5 separate regions of the Homo sapiens genome follow, and regions 1, 2, 3 and 4 are each linked to region 5. The links are contacts of gene promoters, found by promoter capture Hi-C in human tissues and cell types (Jung and others, 2019). All regions are on one chromosome and are shown on one strand. The core of a region is centred on a gene start or on the middle of the fragment in contact, and the rest is flanking DNA. Distances in the headings are between cores, read along the strand shown.

Region 1 (2,700 bases), core at 199-2,698, 140 kb before region 5:
TTCCAAGGCTGTTTGCTATACAAACATCCTTGAAAAGATAGCTGGAATAAAAGCTGTCTGAGCCCCTGATTTTGGGGTGTACAGAAATGCAAGAGACCCGTGGAGAATTGTTCTCCAATGACACCATTGACACCTAATGGGCAGTGGCTGTCCATGAAGGTAACTCAGGTAGGAGGTTGAATAGGGGAGGCTGCTCAGGTTATAGTTTGTGGGTCAATGTGTAGAATCCGGAGTCAGCCACTCTTGGTTCAACTCCCAACACCACCACTTCTTAGCTGTGCTGGCTTGAGCAAGTTACTTCACCTCTCTGTGCCTCAATTTCTCCTTTTATAAAATGGAAATGACAGCAGCACTTATCTCACGAGGTTATTGTGAAAATTAAGTGAGCTGATGTGTGCAAGGCACGTAGAACAGCATGGACACATTAAAGACATGTCAGTGTTAACTATAATTATTATTAATTATCGTGACGATGCCACCAAGCTTGTGGTCATGCCTGTTTTACGGGATTAATGGCCAAGCTCTCTAACCCACACAGTTCCCTCGGAGTGTGGCTCAGAGACTTTGGGGAGGACTTAGAGCCCTTTTCTCCTTGCCCGCCCCACCAATGGTTTGCCCCTTCCCGGATAATTTTTTTTTTTTTTAAACAGGATCTTGCTCTGTAGCCCAGGCAGGAGTGCAGTGGTGCAATCTCAGCTCATTGCAACCTCTACCTCCCGGGTTCAAGCAATACTTGTCAGCTTCCCAAGTACCTGGGATTACAGGTGTGCATCACCTATGCCCGGCTAATTTTTTTGTATTTTTAGTAGGGACGGGATGTCACCATGTTGGCCAGGCTGGTCTCGAACTTCTAGCCTCAAGGGATCCAACCCCTTGGCCTCTCAAAGTACCAGGATTACAGGTGTGAGCCACTACACCTGGTCTAGAAACTCTTTTTTTATTAAGAGATAGAGTCTCACTCTGTTGCCCAGGCTGGAGTGCAGTGGTACCAGCATGGCTCACTGCAGACTCAAACTCCTGGGCTCAAGTGATCCTCCTGCCTCAGCCTCTGGAGTAGCTGGGACTACAGATGCATGCCACCACACCCAGCTAATTTTTAAATTTTTTGTAGAGATGGGGTATCGCTCTGTTGCTCAGGATGATCTTGAACTCCTGGGCTCAAGCAATTCTCCCACCTTTGCCTCCCAAAGTGCTGCGACTACAGGCGTGAGCCACTGCACCCAGCTTCAGGGTCATTTTTATTGTCATCCTTGTCATCTTATTACTCTATTGTACCCCATGAAATGAAACTCCATAGAGTGCAAGCTGAGAACATTTTTGCTCTTTTCTATTGGAACTCAGTAAACTCACCTGTTGCCTTGGTCTCTTTGCATGTCTCAAACTGCAGGAGACACATTTGGGGGCAGTCCCCATCCTCTCTTCTGTTGTTTGATCTCTGCAGCCTCACCACCCACCACACCACACCACACCACATCCTCACCTCTGCATTCAACGGCAGACACTCTCACCTGCCCTCAGTCCCTTCCTCCTATGACCTTCGCATAGACCCCATCACCACCGTTCAGGCCTCCCTCAATTGCCACTTCCTCAGGGAGGCTTTTTCCTGACTTCCACCCAAGACTAATCAGGTGCCTGCATTTTGCATGCATTAACATTTTTAGGCTGGGCGTGGTGACTCATGCCTGTAATCCCAGCACTCTGGGAGGCCGAGGTGGGCAGACCACCTGAGGTCAGGAGTTCGAGACCAGCCTGGCCAACATGGTGAAACCCTGTCTTTGCAAAAATACAAAAAGTAGCCAGGTGTGGTGGTGCATGCCTGTAATCCCAGCTACTTGGGAGGCTGAGGCACGAGAATTGCTTGAACCTGGGAGGCGGAGGTTGCAGTGAGCCGAGATCGTGCCACTGCACTCCAGCCTGGGAGTGCAGGACAGAGCAAGACTATCTCAAAAAAAAAAAAAAATTTAGCTCACACTCTGGGTGCCTGCCCAGATCCACTGGGTTCCTACTGTTTCTCTCCACACCAAGGGGTACTTCTAGCAGCTTCATCTCTCTGCTAGGGGGAGAGGCGGTCTTCCTCCAGCTGCTGAAGTGAGTGTGACCCATACAAGGGCAGATCAGCACAATCAACAGCCCCTAAGAGCAGCCTTCAATCAACAGCAGCATGGAATTGGTGGATAAATACCCCAGCTCCTTCGCCCCTCAGCTGGGACAACTCCAAAGAGCATGCTCTCTGCTGCCTCCAGAGGCCCTCAGTGGGACTGCACCCTATTTGTCCATGGCAGTAACTGGTTTCATAATGCATGCTTAATGGTTACTTTCTTTTCCCTATTTCACTTCCCATCCTCTACTTGTATCTCCTTGGGTCACTTCCCAAATAAACTATTTGTCCTTGCATTTTTTAAGAGATGGGGTATCTGATGCCCAGGCTGAAGTGCAGTGGTGCAATAATAGCTCACGGCAGGCCAGGCACAGGGGCTCATGCCTGTAATCCCAATAGTTTGGGAGGCCAAGGCAGGAAGATCACTTGAACCCAGGAGTTCAAGACCAGCCTGGGCAACATAGCAAGACGCCACCTCTACAAAAACAAAAAAGTATCCAGGCATAGTGGCACATGCCCGTAGTCCTAGCTACTCAGCGGGCTGAGGTGGGAGGATCAATTGAAGCTGGGGGATCTAGGCTGTAGTGAGCCACGATTGTGCC
Region 2 (2,700 bases), core at 103-2,602, 190 kb before region 5:
CAGCGCAGCACACTCACTCTTGCACACTCACTCTTCCTCTTGTTTCGGCTGAATATACCATCTCCTATTACAGGAGTTTTCAGATGCTGCTTGGCTTCGGAGAGTTCCTTATTCCTGCTACAACTGCTGCAGTCGTAGGGCAGCTCCTATTAGCCATATGCAGATCACCGCTAGTCTTAGTCGGCCCCACACTTTGCTCAGAACACACAGTCCAGGCTAAGAGATCTGTGACTCCCCACTTTGCAACTGATGAACCTAATTAGGCCCCTCCATTCACACACTTTCACACACTTCCCCACTCCCAGTTCCCATGTTCTTAATTGGGGTGGTGAGCCACTCTCACTACCTCCAGTTTCCTTTTCCTAACCAACTTAGTGAGCCACTCTTGCATCCTATGTCAGTTGGGGTGTAAGTTTCATCTGAATTGGCGAGCCATTCTCACCACCCCCAGCCCTTCTGGGTTGGATTAATAGTCACATCCCAGGAGGTGATCAGGCTCCCCTTCCATCCTTATGGGGTGGGTCCTGCCTTGGGCCCCAAAACCTTACTGCAGTCCTGAAGGAAGCACGCTGCTCCTGGAATCATCCCATAGCCCCTCAGGTTCCACTGTGCTGCTGGGTAGGGGCACCAGGTCATGAGAGACCCGATCTCCCCTCCGGGCTGAAGTTCTCTGGGCAGTGCCTGGGGTCACAGGTCTCCCCTGGCCCAGGGCTCCTCCAGCCCCCACAGGCAAAGGAGACAGTAAGCCTGTTGTCTCCACTCCTGGCTGGCTCTTCAGAAATGTTGTGGGAAACTGAGGAACAGAGACCGATATGGGAGAACAGGAGGATATTTATTTTAAGGTATGCACCAGTTCAGTGGATTCACATCCAAAAAGCTGAGCGTTGGACAAAAACAAAAGTTAACTTATATAGGCTAGCATACAAGAGCAAAACAAAGACAATAAATTTTACAGTGACAAGCCACATAATCTATAGTGTAACTGCTAACTTGGCATAACTTGTGGCCTTGTATATGCAGCGCATCAGAAAAAAATTAAAACAGGAACTTTGCAAATCTTACTAAATACAAGCATTGGCAAACATAGTCATAACTAATAGTTCAGTACAGGAGAGACATTGAAGGAATTTGTTGTTCTTTTAACCTTTCTCAGGAGTGTCTGCAGCTCATTTCTGCAGGCCAGGTCGCCATGACCTGTCTATAGCCTTGCCTGCAGCAGAGGAAAACTTGTGTTTTTCAAATAACCCTTATTTCTTCTGGAGTGAATAAATGCAGTGTTTATTTTTCTTTAATTTCTGCCTTAACACTGCCCAAAGCAATTTATAGATTCAATGCTATTCCTATTAAACTACCAGTGAGATTATTTACAGAACTAGAAAAAAAACAGTTTTAAAATTCCTATAGAACCAAAAGTGAGCTTGAATAGCTAAGGCAGTCCTAAGCAAAAAAGGTAAAGCTAGAGACATCATGTTACCTGACTTCAAACTGTACTACAGGGCTACAGTAGCCAAAACAGCATGGTACTGGTACAAAAACAGACACATAGACCAATGGAACAGAATAGAGAGCCCAGAAATAAGGCTGCACACCTACAACCATCTGATCTTTGACAAATCTGACACACAAAAAAACTAACAATGGAAAAAGGATTCCCTATTCAGTAGATGGTGCTGGGATAACTGGCTAGCCATACGCAGAAGATTGAAACTGAATCCCTTCCTTATACCACATACAAAAGTTAACTCAAAATGGATTAAAGACTTAAATGAAAAACCCAAAACTATGAAAACTCTGGAAGACAACCTAGGCAATACCATTCAGGACATAGACATGGTCAAATATTTCATGACAAAGAAGCCAAAAGCAACTGCAACAAAAGCAAAAATTGACACATGGGATCTAATTAAACTAAAAAGCTTTTAAACAGCAAAGGAAACTATCAACAGAGTGAACAGACAACCTACAGAATGGGAAAAAATTTTGCTAACTGTGCATCTGACAAAGGTCTAATATCTAGAATCTATAAGAAACTTAAACAAATGTACAACAGAAAAATAAACAACTCCATTAAAAAGTGGGCAAAGGACATGAACAGACACTTTTCAAAAGCAGGCATACATGCAGCCAACAAGCATATAATAGAAAGCTCAACATCGCTGATCATTAGAGAAATGCTTATCAAAACCACAATGAGATACCGTCTAACACCAATCAGAATGGCTGTTAAAAACGTCAAAAAAAAAAAAAAACATGCTGATGAGGTTGCAGAGAAAAAGGTACACTGATACGTTGTTGTTGGGAGTGTAAATTAGCTCAATCAGTGTGGAAAGCAGTGTGGTTATCCCTCAAGGAGCTAAAAACAGAACCACCATTTGACCCAGCAATCCCATTACTGGGTATATACCCAAAGGAATAGAAATTGTTCTATTTTTAAAAGACACATGCACACCTCTGTTCACTGCAACACTATTCACAATAGCAAAGATATGGAATCAACCTAAATGCCCGTCAATGATACACTGGATAAAGAAACTGTAGTACATATACACCATGGAATACTATGCAGCCATAAAAAAGAACGAGATTATGTCCTTTACAGGTGTGAGCCACCGTGCCCAGCCTAACCAAAGGCTCTTTTCTGAGCCATCATTTTCCCTGGCAGGCAGTGGAACTGAGCAGATGGGCCAGTGGCCATAGTGC
Region 3 (2,700 bases), core at 190-2,689, 130 kb after region 5:
TCAGGGGGATCTGGCAGGTGGTGCACGCTTAGGACTCCCCAGGAGGCGTGGCTCGGGAGGTTGGTTGGGGGGGCACACAGGAACACTCCCTAAGGAAGTGTGATCCGAGAGGTTGGGGTGGGGGCTTGCACGCTTAGGACGAGGGGGGCCTCCGGAGGTTGGGAAGAGCACTTAGAAAACCTCCTGGAGGCGTGGCTAGGGAGACAGTCTCAGAAAGTTGGGGAGGGGGAGCAGGTTTAGGAGCCGCTGGGCACTTGGCTCAGAATCCCCGGGGCTGAGGCTCAGGTAGTTGGGGAGTAGGTGCGCGTTTAGGAACCCCGGGGAGATGCTGCGTCTCAGGAAGTTGGGGAGGGCGCTCAGGCTTGGGACTCCTCTGGGGACAAGGCTCAGGACCTTGGGGAGGGAGTGTTCGCTGGGAAACCTTGAGAGATTCCGTGTCTTAGAATGCTGGAGAGAGGGTGCATGCTTAGGACCCGTCGGGGAGCGTGGCTGACAACAGTGGGGAGTGGACCTTGCGCTCCTCCGACCCCCTGGGGGTGAGGATCCGGATTGTGGGGGGAGTTGGGGATGTAGGGCAAGGATCCCTCAGGGGCGCAACACTACCGCGGGGAGCGCGTCAAGGCCCTGGTTAGGGATAGGTTGCGCTCGCCGGGGTAGCCATACGTGCCCTGTCCTGGGAGGGGAACTGACGCTTACTCTCGCCCCCTCCCTGCAGGTGAGAAGCCCTACCACTGCAACTGGGACGGCTGCGGCTGGAAGTTTGCGCGCTCAGACGAGCTCACGCGCCACTACCGAAAGCACACGGGCCACCGGCCATTCCAGTGCCATCTGTGCGATCGTGCCTTCTCGCGCTCCGATCACCTGGCGCTGCACATGAAACGGCACATGTAGCCGGGACGCCCCCGCCCACCTGCGCGCGGCCGTGGCGGGTCCCACGCGCCGGGCGCGGCCCCCTCCCAAACTGTGACTGGTATTTATTGGACCCAGAGAACCGGGCCGGGCACAGCGTGGCTACAGAGGGTCTCCCTCGATGACGACGACGACGACGCCACCACCCCAGCCCCCGTCTGTGACTGAAGGCCCGGTGGGAAAAGACCACGATCCTCCTTGACGAGTTTTGTTTTTCAAAATGGTGCAATAATTTAAGTGGCATCTTCTCTCCCACCGGGTCTACACTAGAGGATCGAGGCTTGTGATGCCTTGTGAGAAATAAGGGCCTTAATTTGTACTGTCTGCGGCATTTTTTATAATATTGTATATAGTGACTGACAAATATTGTATTACTGTACATAGAGAGACAGGTGGGCATTTTTGGGCTACCTGGTTCGTTTTTATAAGATTTTGCTGGGTTGGTTTTTTTTTTAATTAAAAAGTTTTGCATCTTTTAAAAAAAATCACAGCACTGGTCTGGTTGCTTGGAACTGGGGCCTTGGGGCACTTGGGAGGAGGGGGGAGCGGAGAGTTTGATGGAGGGCAGCCCCACTAAAGCATCGTGTGCAGTGGGTCCTGCGTCTGCCAGCACCGGGACTGCCAGCTGCTGTGCCTGCCTGCCAGGAACCTGTGGGTTTTTCTGTAAATTTAGACACTGCATTTTAGGACTGAGGGAGGGTTATTTTAAGGTTGTTCTTTGAGCCATAAATTGCCTCTTTGCCCCACAGCTGGGGAAAGTGCTGGTCCCACTGACGTGGCCTCCTCTACGTTGAAAAAAATAAAACTACTTACCTCTTCCTGGAAGCCTCTGAGGTTTTAGCCAAATTTCTGGAGTGCCAGCTCTATATTTTTATTTTTATTTTTAAAGGGGGTTAACCTGCTGAGTTTCTGGCATGTTCTGCCCTTTACTCGTCTCGACATTTAGCAAGTCTTTTCTTAAGGGGTGAGTTCCCCATTCTGCTAGCGGAAAACAGTGAAACCTGCATTCGAGGGCCATGCATGAAGCTCTTTTCCAGATGAGGAAACGGAGGCCCGGAGAGGTAGCGGCAGGGTGGTGGAGTTGGGTTGTTAGCCTGCTCTGTCTGCCTCCAAGGGTCCCTGAACCCCACTGGAAGGGAGTGGTAGCTTTCTACAATGACCCACCTGTTGTGTGCATTGGAAGGCTAGGAGAGCCTCCTCCCCTGTAGGTCTCCTGGTGCAAAAAATTCACTGCCTCAATGGTAGGAGGTGACCAGTCTGGAAACCCACCTGGAGAGCAGAGGAGACCCCTAAATCCCACCACCCCAAGTGTCTCAGGCAAGGAGGTATCTCTCCCCCCAGATTTCACCTGCCACCCCTCACCTTCCCCATTCTCAGGGGCCCCGGGTAACCATGACCACCAACCATTGCACAAGTTTCCAGAAAGTGAAAATAGCTCGTAAGCAGCGCCTGCTTTAAAACACTCTCACCCCGTTGCGACAGAGGCTGGGATTTCCTCCCTCCCTGCATCCTTCCTCCTCCCCAACTACGGCAGCCCTGGAAACAGCTGAGAGGTGTTTGGTAATCCACGAAAAGCAGAAATACGATTTGACAATCTGATTCATTTTCCGAGAGTAAATAGCCTGGCCTCACTTCCGCTGCTGATGAAGGGTGTGAATGTTTTTGAGCCTCCTGTACCCTCTGCGTGCAGCTTCTGCAAAAACCGTCCCAAGACAGAATGTTGGCCCCTCGACCTGGGGAGATGATCCCCCTTTTTAAAAGCTGGCCTCTGCAGTGCAGGGGCAGAAGAAG
Region 4 (2,700 bases), core at 24-2,523, 250 kb before region 5:
GTCTGTTCCATCTTTCATAATTTTAAAAATGACTATGACGCTATTGTGTGTCTCAGCATGTGGGAGAGAACAGCTCTTCTCTTGTTTCCATTTTTATAATATTAGTATGGTTCGTGCTAACATTTATGTATGTATGTATTTGAGACAGAGTCTTAGTCTGTCACCCAGGCTGGAGTGCAGTGGTGCCGTCTCCACTGATTGCAACCTCCACCTCTTGGTTTCAAGTGATTCTCCTGCCTTAGCCTCCTGAGTAGCTGGGATTACAGGTGCCCAACACCACGCCTGGCTAATTTTTGTATTTTCGGTAGAGACAGGGTTTTGTCTTGTTGGCCAGGCTGGTCTCAAACTCTTGGCCTCCTCAACCTCCCAAAGTGCTGGAATTACAGGTGTAAGCCACCACACTGGCCTGACATTTATTTTTCTGAAGGAATTTTCAAATAGTTTCATTAAATGTATGGTTGATTCACTGGAACTGTAAACACAATTGTATTGAGGTTATAATTTGAGTATGAATTGACATCATTCATACATCAAGCCATACCACCCAAGACTGTAAACTGCTCCCCGTATGTTCAGATAATCTTCTACATGTTTATTAGTATGGATTTAAAATTTTTCTCTTTGAAGGTATGGGATGCTTTGGGTTAATTCCTAGATATTTCATAGTAGAATTTTTCAAAGTATGATATGAGGACCTCTGCAGGGTGATCCCTGAAGTCTTTATTTTTTCTAATTATATATTAGAATATATTTTCATCATATGCCTCAACTAAGACATCATACAGGCTCCCACCACCACACCCGGCTAATTTTTTGTATTTTTTTTTTAGTAGAGACGAGGTTTCACCATGTTATCCAGGATGGTCTTGATCTCCTGACCTCGTGATCTGCCCACCTCAGCCTAGGATTACAGGTGTGAGCCACCGCGCCTGGCACATATTGCCACAGACTGAATAAAGAAAGAAATGTGAGCATCAAGCTGTTTCCTGCCAAGCCAGGACATACGATGTTTTTGCTAAAACGTCAAACAAGGCTACTCTTCTCACGGAATGTTTTTTCTTAATGTGGTTATTTGCCTGAAAATGTTACTTATATTTGTAAGAGTTAAAGAAAGAAGAAAGAAACACGAAACATGGCTTGGCAGTTAAAGACAGGTTTACTTTAGATAAAACCTGAGGGGGGCTTCTGGCCAATTTCAGTCAGGAGAAGTTTCTCTTACACACTAAGAGTACATATTAGTTTTAGGGTGAGGGGCTTATCACAAGCTTGGAATGTTTCTGTGTGGGGGAGAAGTTTTATGGCAGGGTTGGAATGTCTCTGGGAGGAGGGGAGGTTATCTTGGGGCTGACATCTTTCCGGCCGGGTGGGAGTGATCTTGAGGCTGGCATCTTCCCAGCCAGAGGAGGCAAATTTCGGGGCCAGCATGTCTCTCACTGGGGAGGAGTTTGGAATATTTCTGGCTGGAGATGTTATTTATGGTTTATGGTTGTGCTGACCTTAGCCATTAGCCTGACACCCTTTGGATTTAGGCGGTTTTTTATTAAGGGGAATTTTAGAATGAGGGGCTTGTCCAAGATAGTGATGCTCCTGCTCTGTCAATATTAGCATGCAATAGGTTCATTATTGCTCTTTTAAATGTACTAATAACTAATATTTTAAATGATTTTCAATTTTCATTTCCAATATGGTAAAAAACAATGATAGTTCTAAGCCACAATAAACAAAAGCCCTTTAGAGTGCTCAGTAATTTGGGTGTGTAAAGGAATCCTGAGACATGTTTCTTTATATTTTTCTTTATATTTTGTGCATTTGAAATTTTGCTTAGGAAGTCTTTCCTCGTGCCTAGATTACAAAGTTATTATCCTACACTTTCTCCTATTAAATGTAAAGATAATGGCAAAGAGTGCAACTACTTTTGCACCAACCTAATAGTTTGTGTTGCTGTTGGGAATCTTCCCCTTCTCTGTATTCAACTTCTATTTCTTGAATGCTTGTTACTGGTGTGACACTAGGAGGATCACTGGGATTTTTGCCAGCTGACCTTGCCTTCTGCATCACTGGGCTCTGTTATTGTTCCAATAGATTATACCATCATTCTTTTATCTTTTATATGTAGATGATCACGTCTCTTCGCTTCCAGTCCTCAGATACCTTAGATACTTTGTTTCTTTTTCTTGCCTTGTAACATCACTCACGACTTTCAGCTCCATGTTAAAGAACAGCAGAGTTAGTGAGTATCCTTGGCTTTTTCTTGATCCTAAAATAATGCATCAAAAAGTTTCTTCATTTAGTGTATGTAGTATTTGCTAATTTTGTGCTATATATTCTATATTTAGATAAGAAAATCTCCTTGAATTTTGTGTTGTGAAGTGTTCTTTAAAAATCATAAATAGGAGTAGAGTTTAAGAAAAACATATTTATGCCTTTATTGAAATAATCATGATTTTTCTTTTTTAATCAACTCCTGTGATAAATCATATGATAGGTTTTCTGATGTTAGCCATCCTTGTCATTTGTGAAATAAATCTATACCACTTTATTATGGTAAACCATTTTTAATATACCATTAAATTTGACTAGGTTATGGTTTTATTCTGGAATTTAAAATCTGCATGGATAGGTGAAGTAGGCCTATAGTTGTCTCTTTTTCTTTTTTTTTTCTTTCTTTTTATTTTTTGAGACAGAATTTTGCTCTTGTTG
Region 5 (2,700 bases), core at 192-2,691:
GTTTGTGGAGGCCTGAGGAGTTTCTTCAGACCGCCAATAAAGCTTGTTTAATCCTAAAAGGGTCCTGTTAAGAATTCCTTCATTATCTTGTCATGCTTCAAGGCCCAGGAAAGGCCTAGGCACAACTCTGGGTGGGCTTTTGTTACATCCCAGCCTTTGTATAAGGGCACTGGCTCTCTTATCTTTTAATATTTAACTTAACCCTTGTAATCCCAGCACTTTGGGAGGCCGAGGTGGGTGGATCACGTGAGGTCAGGAGTTTGAGACAAGCCTGGCCAACATGGTGAAACCACGTCTCTACTAAAAATACAAAAATTAGCTAGGTGTGGTGGCACATGCCTGTAATCCCAGCCACTTGAGAGGCTGACACACAAGAGAATCACTTGAACCCAGGAGGCAGAGGTTGCAGTGAGCCGAGATCATGCCATTGCACTCCAGCCTGGGTGACAGAGTGAGACTCCATCTCAAAAAAAAAAAAAAAAAAAAAAGCAAACAACAAAAACCCTCTCTTGGCTGCTTGCTCTGTGCCTTGAGCAAGAATCCTTCCAGCCCAGGAGTCACTTAGCAGTCTTCAAACATTCTAGTTTGCTTCTCTAGAGTTTCGGTCACATTTCTTTCCTAAGCAAAACACTATATAATTACCGAGTTGCAAAAATCATCTTTCCAAACGCCAAAACGGAGATAAGACAGAAAATAAAAGATGTGAGAGGCAGGCATCCTGGGTAAATCACTCTGGTATTGCAGGGTTGGGATCCCCAGGGTACTATGATGGCTAACTGGAACAGAATGCAGGCATTTCTCCAAAGCCCAAGAGTTCATAAAAGCAAATTAAATATGACTCAATGGATTAATCAAGGGCCACCAGTTGCATTACTGATTACTAACTTTGCAGAAATGAAACACGGTATGTTGGGTCAAGGTTCAGTGAGGCTGGTTTTCATAACATTCCAGGCAATAAACAGGCACACTCATTCATTGATAAATGTTGACAATGACAGGTGGTGACTGTTGATAAGGTTTGATTGCCATTCAGAAAGTTTGTTTGACCTCTTTCCAAGTAACCACGACCTTACCTCTCTCTTTTGAGCTTATCACAATTGGTGACTGTACACTTGTTTCATAGACTTCCCCACCAGACTGTGAGCTCCATAGGGCTGGGCCCCAGGTCGGTTTCACCACCAGGCTCTCTCGCCTAACTCGGCCCACGGGAGGCCGTTTCCAGCTGCTCTGGCTCCATAGCTCAGCCTGGCAGCGGCCACTGGGTGCCCTGATTTGGTCGGCCCCGCCCCACCGGGCCTTACTTCCGGGATGCTTCTGGCGGGAGCAAGAAACATGGTTACATACGACGTAATGCGCCTGCGCACAGTCCGTCCTGCGCCTGCGCATTCCTGACAGCACCTCCCGGACCGGACATAACGGTCCCCGCGCGGCTCCCCGAACCGGAAGTGGAGGTGAGCTGTCGCGGGCGGCGCCCGGCCTTGCTCAACGCCCAGCAGTCCCCACCGTCGCTGCCGCCGCCACCGCCCTCGGCCGCTGCCGAGGCCTCCTGCAGCCATCATGTCCGCCAGCGCCGTCTACGTGCTGGACCTGAAGGGCAAGGTACTGAGGGCTCCCCACCCTCCCTGTTGCCAGGCAACCGGCAGGGGCCTCCGCCCGCGGGGACCCACCCTGTTGCTAGGTAACCGGCTTATGAGCCCCATCCTGGTGTGAGGCAGAGAGGCCGGTAGACCTCACCTGAGAGCCCCATCCTGTTTCTGGGTAACCGGGCGGGGGTCTTAAGTGGGTAATCCCCGCCCTGTTGCTACGTAACGCGGTGGGCTGCAGCCACCGCGTTGCCAGGTAACTGACTGCACCGCCCTCTGCTCCCCGGCGCCGGGGCCGGGGGCTCGGGCCTCGGTGGAGGACCCAGAAGCGGGGCCGCAGCCGGCCTCGGAGCCAGGCAGGGCGTCCAGGGGCTGCGCGACCCTTGGCCGGGGGTGGCGAGGCGTGGCGGGGACTGGGTGCTCTCGAGCCAGTCCCGCCTTCTCAGGGCGTTACAGCTTCTGTTTATCGTGCACTTTCTCTCAGTAGGAATTTCTCCACGTTCATTGTGATAGTGAGTTACAAGGATTAGGTGAGGTGAGTGGTGATCACGAGTGCCGTTTTATAGAGGGAGAAACTGAGGCATGGAGAGGTGAAGCAACCTGACCAAGGTCACAATGGTCACAGAGAAGTAGCAAGTCTAGGAGTCCGATCCAGAATCATTCGTTTATTCAGCTGATATCTGGGGAGCACCTACTAATGCCGGGCAGGGTACTAAGCCTGGGGTCGATTTGTGTTTAGCAAAAAACAGTCCCTTTTTTTTTGTTTTGTTTTTGAGATAGTGTCATGCTCAGTCGTCCAGTCTGGAGTGTAGTGGTGCAATCTCCACTCACTGCAACCTCCGCCTCCCGGGTTCAAGCAATTTTCCTGCCTCAGCCTCCCAAGTAGCTGGGATTACAGGCACCTGCCACTACGCCGAGCTAAATTTTGTATTTTTAGTAGAGGCAGGGTTTCACCATGTTGACCAGGCTGGTCTCGAACTCTTGACCTCGAGTGATCCACCTGTCTTAGCCTCCCAAAGTGCTGGGATTACAGGTGTGAGTCATGTGCCAGGGCTCAACAATCTGTGTTCTTACGGTGTTCACAGGCTGGTAGGGGAGATGGATACCCATCTCCAAA

The links. Contacts are between HindIII fragments. The study calls those that stand out against the background at their distance.
Region 1: a fragment that was not itself captured here is called in contact with the fragment with the promoter of AP1M1 in region 5 in 8 of the 25 tissues and cell types used here (dorsolateral prefrontal cortex, liver, lymphoblastoid cells and 5 more).
Region 2: a fragment that was not itself captured here is called in contact with the fragment with the promoter of AP1M1 in region 5 in 6 of the 25 tissues and cell types used here (liver, lymphoblastoid cells, mesendoderm cells and 3 more).
Region 3: a contact is called between a fragment that was not itself captured here and the fragment with the promoter of AP1M1 in region 5, in 1 of the 25 tissues and cell types used here (H1 embryonic stem cells).
Region 4: a contact is called between a fragment that was not itself captured here and the fragment with the promoter of AP1M1 in region 5, in 2 of the 25 tissues and cell types used here (liver and psoas muscle).

What each region holds. Positions count from the first base shown.
Region 1 is chr19:16,060,664-16,063,363 of GRCh38, forward strand. No RefSeq gene overlaps it. Among named protein-coding and RNA genes, the nearest start is that of LINC01855, 3.7 kb to the right of the region's middle. The HindIII fragment of the contact is 9,039 bases long and covers 1-2,700 here.
Region 2 is chr19:16,002,555-16,005,254 of GRCh38, forward strand. No RefSeq gene overlaps it. Among named protein-coding and RNA genes, the nearest start is that of LINC00661, 12 kb to the right of the region's middle. The HindIII fragment of the contact is 7,158 bases long and covers 1-2,700 here.
Region 3 is chr19:16,326,141-16,328,840 of GRCh38, forward strand. KLF2 (KLF transcription factor 2) reads left to right here. Exons shown (of 3, transcript NM_016270.4): 3 at 716-2,545. The coding sequence ends at 891. Among named protein-coding and RNA genes, the nearest start is that of KLF2, 2.7 kb to the left of the region's middle. RefSeq lists an enhancer at 1-24. The HindIII fragment of the contact is 3,241 bases long and covers 1-2,700 here.
Region 4 is chr19:15,943,466-15,946,165 of GRCh38, forward strand. No RefSeq gene overlaps it. Among named protein-coding and RNA genes, the nearest start is that of OR10H4, 4.2 kb to the right of the region's middle. The HindIII fragment of the contact is 5,665 bases long and covers 1-2,700 here.
Region 5 is chr19:16,196,470-16,199,169 of GRCh38, forward strand. It overlaps AP1M1 (adaptor related protein complex 1 subunit mu 1), which reads left to right and starts at 1,442. Exons shown (of 12, transcript NM_032493.4): 1 at 1,442-1,599. The coding sequence starts at 1,558. RefSeq lists a silencer at 1,586-1,825. The HindIII fragment of the contact is 7,648 bases long and covers 1-2,700 here.